Linked DNA regions of Homo sapiens: region 1 is linked to region 2. The links are contacts of gene promoters, found by promoter capture Hi-C in blood cells and fetal thymus (Javierre and others, 2016). All regions are on one chromosome and are shown on one strand. The core of a region is centred on a gene start or on the middle of the fragment in contact, and the rest is flanking DNA. Distances in the headings are between cores, read along the strand shown. Region 1 overlaps LCN8 (lipocalin 8). Region 2 holds the start of PTGDS (prostaglandin D2 synthase).

Evidence for each region. The method cuts DNA at HindIII sites, captures the fragments that hold promoters and counts their contacts. A CHiCAGO score of 5 or more calls a contact.
Region 1: a fragment that was not itself captured here is called in contact with the fragment with the promoter of PTGDS in region 2 in 3 of 17 cell types (M1 macrophages, activated CD4 T cells and endothelial precursors); the score reaches 6.4 in M1 macrophages.

What each region holds. Positions count from the first base shown.
Region 1 is chr9:136,753,410-136,757,910 of GRCh38, forward strand. LCN8 (lipocalin 8) reads right to left here. Exons shown (of 7, transcript NM_178469.4): 1 at 4,498-4,501; 2 at 3,629-3,759; 3 at 3,113-3,183; 4 at 2,003-2,107; 5 at 1,835-1,924; 6 at 1,726-1,751; 7 at 977-1,100. The coding sequence ends at 1,089. Among named protein-coding and RNA genes, the nearest start is that of LCN8, 2.6 kb to the right of the region's middle. The HindIII fragment of the contact is 243 bases long and covers 1,996-2,238 here.
Region 2 is chr9:136,975,701-136,980,446 of GRCh38, forward strand. PTGDS (prostaglandin D2 synthase) reads left to right here and starts at 1,804. Exons shown (of 7, transcript NM_000954.6): 1 at 1,804-1,992; 2 at 3,293-3,432; 3 at 3,523-3,599; 4 at 4,246-4,362; 5 at 4,483-4,584. The coding sequence starts at 1,879. It also overlaps LOC124902312. RefSeq lists an enhancer at 2,864-3,843. The HindIII fragment of the contact is 17,671 bases long and covers 1-4,746 here.

The sequences.
Region 1 (4,501 bases), core at 867-3,366, 220 kb before region 2:
TCTGTTGTTTAAGGTGCCCAGTCTGGGGTATTTTGTCACGGGAGCCTGAGCTGACAGCGAGAGTGACAGCCCCTCCAGCAGGAAATCCAAGTCCAGGCGAAGCTCCTTGAACCCGTGGGCTTCGGCCAGGCACAGCTGCGCAAAGTCACGGCTGTTTCCCAGGAGCCCCTAACTTGTCAGAATGCAGCCTCTACATGTCCCTCCTGTGGGTCTCGGGGGCACAGTTCTGGATTTGAGGCGCATCTAGGGTGCAGCCCTTGTTCCTAGCAGGGCCTTTCCAGTGTCCCGGCCGTGCTGGGGGCTGGCGAGGTCCCCCTACTCGGGCTGTTCCCCCAGAGCTCCCGGCACCACTCGACCTCAGGTATCATTTTCCGCCGCCCCGACGAGGCAGCCACCCTCATAAGCCTGGGTTGTCTCACCTGCATATGTGGGGACCGGCTGATTCCCCAGGGGCCTGGGCGCAGAACCTCCGGGCTGACACTGTCACTTTCCTTGCCCTTCCCGTGTCCCAGGCCAGGCGGGAGGAGAAAGTGATGCAGTCGGCTGGTGGCAGCCGAGGCCACGGGGTGACAGCCCACTGTGGAAGCGGACACTGAGCAGGGCTGGGCAGCTGGGGGTCCAGGGAGGCTGGAAGCGGGGCCCATCGGGTAGGGCCTTCAGCACGGGCCGTGAGCCTGGAGCCCTGGGCAGTGGGGAGCCATGGAGGATGCAGGCAGGAGGGGTGTGGCCTCCATGCGTTTGACAGACCTGCTGAGACTCCACCAGGAGCCCTGTTTCTGTCTCTGGTCTATACCCTGGGGCAGCCTGACCACGACCCTAGCAGGGCGGGAGGGCAGGGGTTGCTGCCTTGCACGTGAGCTGCACTGTTTGTCCAGTAACCACGGAAAACACACCTCCTGTTGCCAGACCTGGGGCGGGTGAGTCCCCCCACACCTGTCACCCATCGGCCCTCCGGAAGGACACACCAGGCAGTGGCTTGACTTCACAGTTTATTCAGAGCAGGTGCAGGTGACCTGGTGGGCAGGGTGCCCAGGAGGGGCAGGGGTGGGCGGGCGCTCCGAACCTTGTGGTCTGAGGCAGGAACTCCATTAAATCAGCTCCTGCGACACAGAAGTGCAGGGGCTCAGGCCCGTGTGGTCTCTGGAGGCCCCACGGGGCTTCGATGAGGGCCACACGGCGGGACTTCTGTCCTCGCTGCCTGGTTTTGCGCAAAGCACCCAGCTCCCTGAGCGCCTTCTCAATCTGCAAAATGGGGTAACAGGCCCAGCCTCTAGGGCCAAGACAAAGCGAGGTGAGGGAGACACTGGGTTCTCGCAGTGCCCAACATGGGAGCCCTGAGGCAGCGCCCGCAGGATCTGTGCCCCGCCGCCGACGGGACCTTCGGGGGCAGAAGCAGCCGGCAGTCCTGCACAGAACACCGAAGAAAAGGCGCCATTTCTGCTCCCCTGCCCCACCCAGCTCTGCACCCCGTGACCCCAGCCTCCCAGGGTCCCTGCCTGGCAGCCTAGGGTCACCACCCTGGAGGTTCCAGCTCTTTCCAAACCAGGAGACAGACTCATCTCTGGAGCTGCCCACCAGTGGTGTTTGGTGTCCTGTTCACAGGAAGGGGTGAGAAGGCCCAGCCCAGGGCCGGGAGGCGGAGCCACGGGGGCTCCTGACAGGGCCAGGGACTGGGCCAGGGGCCCGGGAACTTCAGCACAGGCCAGGGTCGGGGGTCAGGCTCACCTCCTTCAGGAGCTCGGCACACCGCCCTGCAGGATAGGCCAGCATGAGGAGCTGCAGAGTCAGCCCACAGGGCCCAGCCCAGCCTCCACCCCAAGGCCCCTGGGCTCACCAGGCCGGGCCGCCAGGTAGAGACCAGTGTCTGCTGTCAGCTCCCGAAACTTCCAGAACCCCAGCCGGTCCTTGTCCTCAAGGCTCCGAGCTGTGGGGCACAGGGGGGCTGGGCGGGCAGTCCCTGGGAGAGCAGCAGCTGGGCAGAGCCCCCCAGGGCCAAGCTTACTAAAGTACTTGAGGACGCGAAAGTTCCTGCCCCGCCACATCAGGGACACCCGCAGGATGGCGTAGCCCTCGTAGTCGGTGTCCAGCACGTGGATCTCTCTGTGGCCTTCAAGAGCCGGCCATGGCGTTGGGGGAGACGTCTGAGGGGGACGGACCTCGAAGGCCAGGGTCTGCAGGGTCTAACTCCATCCTGCCCCCACCCAGTCCCAGCACTTGAGTGGTTGGAGACACTACAGAAGCTTTTGAAGGATGATCCAGTGTGTTGGTGGGAGAATGGGAAGGTCTGGGGCATGAAATGTGCAGGGAACAGCATGGGGAACAGTGCAGGGAACCCTGCAGGGAACAGCATGGGGAACGGTGCAGGAAACAGCATGGGGAACAGTGCAGGGAACAGCATGGGGAACAGTGCAGGGAACAGTGCAGGGAATGCATGGGGAACGGCACAGAGAAAAGTGCAGGGAACAGCATGGGGAATAGTGCAGGGAGCAGTGCGGGGAACAGTGCAGGGAGCATTGCAGGGAACAGCATGGGGAACAGTGCAGGGAACAGTGCAGGGAATGCATGGGGAACGGCACAGAGAAAAGTGCAGGGAACAGCATGGGGAATAGTGCAGGAAACAGCATGGGGAACAGTGCAGGGAGCAGTGCGGGGAACAGTGCAGGGAGCATTGCAGGGAACAGCATGGGGAACAGTGCAGGGAACAGCATGGGGAACAGCGCAGGGAACAGCATGTGGAACAGCGCAGGGAACAGCATGAGGAACAGTGCAGGGAACAGCATGGGGAACAGCGCAGGGAACAGCATGGGGAACAGTGCAGGGAACAGTGCAGGGAACGCATGGGGAATGGCGCAGAGAAAAGTGCAGGGAACAGCATGGGGAATAGTGCAGGAAACAGCATGTGGAACAGTGCAGGGAGCAGTGCAGGGAACAACATGGGGAACAGCACAGGGAATAGTTCAGGGAACAGCATGGGGAACAGTGCAGGGAACAGCACAGAGAACAGTGCAGGGAACAGCATGGGGAACAGTGCAGGGAACAGCATGGGGAACAATAAGGCCTAGCTGTGTGCACAGCCGGGTTCCACCTGCCATCACAGGGCAACTGCACTTACCAGGAAAAGCGAATTTTCCCGTACTGTCTATTTCTGAGCCCACGATCTTCTCTATCTCACAGCTTCCTGAGCTGAAAGGCAGCAAAGTGCCCATCGGTAAAATGCTAGCCTGTGTCCCGCCTGCTGGGCTCCTTCCCGGAGTGGGGCTGTGTCTTTAGGAAGGGCACAGGCAGCACTGTGGAGTATCCCAGGCCTGGAGCAGGATGAGGCGGGGAATGTGCCAGGTGGGGCCTTCCCCTGGGGATTCTGTTCCCTCCAGCCAGTCACCTGTCCCACACCCCTTTTCCTTCCTTCTAAGTTCACGGGGCTTCATTAAAACACTATGCTTATATTTGGGATAAAATGCAGATCCAGGAGCCTGGGGGTCGAGGGCTCAGGCAGACGGGCACCGGGAGTGCTGGCCCACCAGCGGGACGGCACTCAGCCCAGACCCCACGCTGCAGCGGGTGCAGCAACCCACGCCCAGTCCCCGGCCATGCATGCCTCTTCCTCTCCAGCAGCCCCCAGGCCTCTTACCTGTTATATGCAACCTTCACGGTCAGGTTACTCCCGCTCAAGGTGAGGAACAAGCCCTCCACCCGCTTCGGGGCCGTCAGCACCAGGCTTTGATCGGAGGCCACACCGACTTCCCTCCAGAATCCTCCAATCTAGAGAGATACGGAGCCTGGCCAAGAGCTGAGCAGTGGGTCTGAGACCCCCAGGGGCATTCCACGAACCCCCGGGCAGGGGCCTGCTGGGCTCTGAGAGGTCAGCAGATGGCTGTGAGGCTCGGTGGCAAAGCAGCAAGACATCTGTGAGCCCACTGTCCCCAGGCATGTGTCCCTCCAAGCGGTGCCTTCAGGCCATCAGACAGCAATGCCCACAGGGCAGCCCCTCCCCACTGGGCCATCTAGAGCTGCGGAACAGTCCCTAGGGCTTCTGCGACATGTCGGGAGGAACCACAGGCCCTGCCTGACCTCGGAGGCAGGACCCAGGAGCAGAGGCCTGGAAAAGAAAGCCCGCAGGGCGCGGCGGAGTGAGAAACGCCAGAGAACAGGTGGCTCGGGTAGCGCAGCTCGCCAGCCTGCCAACCACGCCAGAGGATGGGCCTCCTGCCCTCAGCAACCCGCCCAGAGCCGGGACTTCCGCTGAGACTTTTAAAAACCCTACCATTTTCGGGAGGAAAGAATCTTCGTCTCCGGCATCTACCTTCTCTGGGCCTGCTAATGTGCCTCTGGCCCAGCAGCCGGCACAGACTCAGCGGAGAAGAAAATGCCGCTAACAGGAAGTGTCTAGCCGGGCACCAGCGTCCCCACGAGCTCCCCACACCGGGAGAGGCCTCCTTCCCTGAGCCTGAGGGGTTGGGGGTGTAGGAGGAGCCCCACCAACTAAGAAGGAGAAGCCACCTTC
Region 2 (4,746 bases), core at 554-3,053:
ATTCAGACCCAGAGCCACGTGTCCTGGGTCTCCCTGCCCCGGGCCACCCGCCACCACACCCCAGAGCTTGCTCACCACCGGGAGGCGCTCTTGTCCTGGACCAGCCTAGCCTGGGTTGGGACCTCCAGCCAGGCCAGTCAGCGAGCCACCAGCCCCACCAGAGTGGAATGACAGCCAGGACTCAGCTGGCAGCGGGCAGGAGGCCAGTCTTGTGGTGATATCCCAGCCGCAACTCTCTTCCTGCCCCTCCCCTGTCCTGACGGCAGCCCCCAGCTCTGTAGCTGAGCCAGGCTTGCGGGCCACGCGGGGTCCCGGGTTTAGGCACCCCACCCCTATCTGTTCCAACAGACTCTCCCTCTCAGCCCATGGCACAGATGGCATCTGAGCTAGCAGCACGCTGCTGCTTCAGGCAGGGGTTGATAGGAGGTCCAGGTGGAGGAGTGGGTTCTCAGGACTGCCTTGGCCCCCCTGCACCGCTGCCCTCCTTCTCCCTGCCTCTCAGGTGCCTCCCGGCTCCCTGGGACTCACTCCCTCACCTTGGCCTCTGCCTGGGATGCTACCCGGCCACCCCCACCAGCCCTGACACCAGTGCTGCCCACTAGCCCCTGCTGCTACATAGGCATGCGCCTCCCCCAGTCTGGGCTCCTTGACCCCCGGGCACTGGGGAAGGGGAACAAGGAAGCAGTCCACACCAGCCCACTCCCAGGGCTCGTGCGCCCCCAGCAAGGGATGGGCCACAGAATCCAGGAAGAAGACGGGCTCCGGCCCCCAGTGGTCGCCAGCAGCCCCGTAGAAGCTCACCACCCCACCCCATCCGACTCACTCCTGCTCTCATGTACATTTCCCAGCTCCCCACCCGGGCTCACCTTCAGACCAGCGGCAGCGCTCACCCACCACGCCTGCCAGGGAAGCTCAGTCCCAACAGAATCCAGAGAGGGCCCACCACATGTGCCTGCCTGTGACGGCCTGTGACAGGGCCCCAGCCAGGGCCAACGAGCTGGAGGGGCCCAAGGAGCTGGGTGCAGCGCTGGGGTAACAGGACAGCCCCACGGGGTGCTCCCGAGTCTGGACCAGACTCGGGGTGGGGAGGCCCAGACTCGGCGGGGGGCAGACTTGGGGTGGGGGGATTGCTGGGGGAAGTTGGGGCCTCTGGCAAGGGATAGGGCCTGTGCTCAAGCCCAAAGGTGCCCCAGGCTGAAATGGGCACCCAGGGGTCACTATCAGAGCCCCAACAGCTGGCCATGGGGGAAGCCATGCCCAGCAAACCTGGCCCTCGGGACCCTGCGGGCCAGATCAAGTTTCTCTACCTTGGCCTGAGCTTCTCATCAACACTTCACTTGCTGGGCGTTTCAGGACCAAACTCTCAGGGTGGAAGTGGGGCTTGTGTCCCCTTCTGGGGTGGCAGGGCTCGGAAAGGGAATGATGGTAGGGGCTGTGAGATGTGGGTCCTGGCCCCCAGTGGGAAGTCACCAGAGGCCTCGGAGGCGGGCATGGCTGAGGAACACAGCCCCTGCCCTATCAGGGCCGCTGGGTTGGTGGGCCCTGCCAGCAGGAGGAGGGTGGGCAAGGTCCCTGCCAGCTCTGTCTCTGGGACCAGTGGGCAGGGGCCTCTGCCTCACCCCCACGCTGCCTCAGCTGGGGCAGCAGGCCCAGGCCTCTTGCATAAGCGCCCTGTGGGGGACGAGGCTGCAGCTGTGCCTGGCCACCCCATCCCCCAGCATCACGAGTGTTCAGTGGGCTGTCCCCGGGCCCTGGGTGGAGGCCAAGCCTGGCCCATAAATAGGGGTCTCCTCAGTGCCCTCCGCTCCTCCTGCACACCTCCCTCGCTCTCCCACACCACTGGCACCAGGCCCCGGACACCCGCTCTGCTGCAGGAGAATGGCTACTCATCACACACTGTGGATGGGACTGGCCCTGCTGGGGGTGCTGGGCGACCTGCAGGCAGCACCGGAGGCCCAGGTCTCCGTGCAGCCCAACTTCCAGCAGGACAAGGTGAGGGGCTTTCCTGCGTCATCCCCAAGGGCTACAGGACCCTGTCAGGGGAAGGGCACTTTCCGGCTGGGTCTTCCCCCTGGGAGGAGTGAGCGAAGTCCCGCAGTGCCGGGCAGTGCCGGCCAGGGACTGAGCGGGCGCGCAGGAAGGAGGCTGGGTAGCCGCCCGAGGAGGCTGCCCGCGAGAAGCCCTCCCTGGGCACCGCGTCCCGTCTCCCCTGATGGGCCACGCAGACACCGGGCCACACACGCGCCCACGCCAGCCAGACACGTCCACCCCTGTGGGCACGCGACCCCCAGAGGACACACGAGCGCACGTTCCACACCTGGGTGCCAGGACACGGGCGGGTGGGGCACAGGGATGGCGACAAACACTCCGTGCGCGGTGGGGGTTGGGAGGGACGCGCACCGCACAGACAGCCGGCGACGCGCGCTCTCGCCCGGGAGCTGCTCGGGGAAGCGCCGGAGCGCGGGTCCCCGCGCCGCGCGCCCCTCCCTGGCGTCGAGGAGAACCCCAGCGGTCCGCAGAGCTGAGCCGAAGACCCGCCCCGATCCCCGCCAGGAATGCGACGTCCTCTGCCGCCCGCTGTATGGGCCAGGCGCTCAGCCAGGGCACAGAATCGGGACCGGGGGCGGAGGGGCCGAAGCTGGCTGGTGGGCGGCGTGCGAGGGTGAGGGACTGTCCTCGGGAGGGGCGTGGCCAGACGGGGGTGCTGGGTGTCAGGGGCGTGGCCAGCTTCTGGGGCTGAGGCGTGAGGGGCGGGGCCATCTCCGGGGGAGGGGGAAGTGGGGCGTGGTCATCTCCTGGGGCGGGGCGTGAGGGGCGGGGCCACCTCCCGGGGCGGGGCGGGGGCCTGATGGGCGTGGTCAGCTCCTGGGGCGGGGACGTGAGGGGCGGGGTCAGCTCCTAGGGGGGCATGGGGCGTGAGGGGCGCGGTCAGTTCCCTGGTTGTGGACATGAAGGGCGGGGCCAGCTCTTGGGGCGGGGTCGTGAGGGGCGTGGTCAGCTCCTGGGGCGGGGATGTGAGGGGCGGGGTCATCTCCTGGGGCGGGGATGTGAGGGGCGTGGTCAGCTCCTGGGGCGGAGATGTGAGGGGCGGGGTCATCTCCTGGGGCGGGGATTGAGGGGCGGGGGTCAGTTCCTGGGGCGGGGCGTGAGGGGCGTGGCTGCTCGGGGGATTGGGCGTGGGGGCGGGGCCGGGTTGGAGACCGGAGGAGTAGACGGCAGAGGCGCCCCCGCAGGTAGGCGCAGGTGGGTCCGGAGGGTCCTGGCCGACGCGGGTGGGGGTCGCTCGCCGCAGTTCCTGGGGCGCTGGTTCAGCGCGGGCCTCGCCTCCAACTCGAGCTGGCTCCGGGAGAAGAAGGCGGCGTTGTCCATGTGCAAGTCTGTGGTGGCCCCTGCCACGGATGGTGGCCTCAACCTGACCTCCACCTTCCTCAGGTGGGACAGCGGGCAGGTGGGTTTCTGGGACGGAGAGGTCCAGGGACACCCTCGGGCCTAACCCCTGACCCTGAGGTCACCCACCTACAGGAAAAACCAGTGTGAGACCCGAACCATGCTGCTGCAGCCCGCGGGGTCCCTCGGCTCCTACAGCTACCGGAGTCCCCGTGAGTGGGGCCTCCACCGGCCCCCTGGGCCCAGCCTGGGGGCGACACTTGCCGGGACGACTCTGGGCCAGCCCCCTGCCGCGGAGATCCATGGGGTGGGAGGTGATGGCTGCCCCACCAGCGTCAGAGGCAAAGGCCAGGCCTGGGCGTGACTACCCATGCACAAGTGTTAGGGACAGAGAGACCCTTCCTCCAGGGGGTTGGATCCTCTCTGGAGCCCACCATTGTCTTGTCAGGCCCCTTCCCTGCCCTCTGGAGTTTTCCCCACATAAGCAGCCCCCCAAGGCCCCTCCATATGCCTCCTCCCAATTCTCCTCCCCAGGACCCAGGGGTTTCCTCACTCCCACCTGGGGAATGGCTCCCACGGGGAAACCTCTTCACTTCCGGTTCTGGCAGCGACTTCTGCGGCTGCACCAGGAATCCTGGTTTTCTGAGCCTGGCTCCCCCAGATTCTGGTTTGGGGACAGGGTTCACAGGCTGTGCAGGCGAGAGCAGGGCACTGGCTGGAGAGCAGCCGGGTGGGGGAGCATCCCGGGCCAGCCGAGGGGCTGAGTGCCCCCAAAGCCCACAGGTGCACCCCTTCCCTGAAGCAGAGGTGAGGTTTGGGGGGCTGAGTCCCCGACAGGGTTGTCTCTTGGGTTCCCAGACTGGGGCAGCACCTACTCCGTGTCAGTGGTGGAGACCGACTACGACCAGTACGCGCTGCTGTACAGCCAGGGCAGCAAGGGCCCTGGCGAGGACTTCCGCATGGCCACCCTCTACAGTACGTGCCCCGTGGACGCCGCCCACACGCAGGCCTGACCAGAGGGGGCTCCCCAAGACCCAGGGCAGGGCACACAGCATCCCCCCCGCTGAGGCCAGCTCCGTCTCCACCCTGTCCCAGGCCGAACCCAGACCCCCAGGGCTGAGTTAAAGGAGAAATTCACCGCCTTCTGCAAGGCCCAGGGCTTCACAGAGGATACCATTGTCTTCCTGCCCCAAACCGGTGAGGGGTCCTAATCTGATGGGGAGAGGATCAAGGTCAGATTAGAGGCAGGCAGGCAGTCTCCTGACTGGGGGAGGCAGAGGGGAGGAGGTGGCCCCGCCCTGCTCGAGGCCTGGGCCAGGGACAGAGGGGGTGAGTGTTCAAGTCAGAACCTCCCTCCCG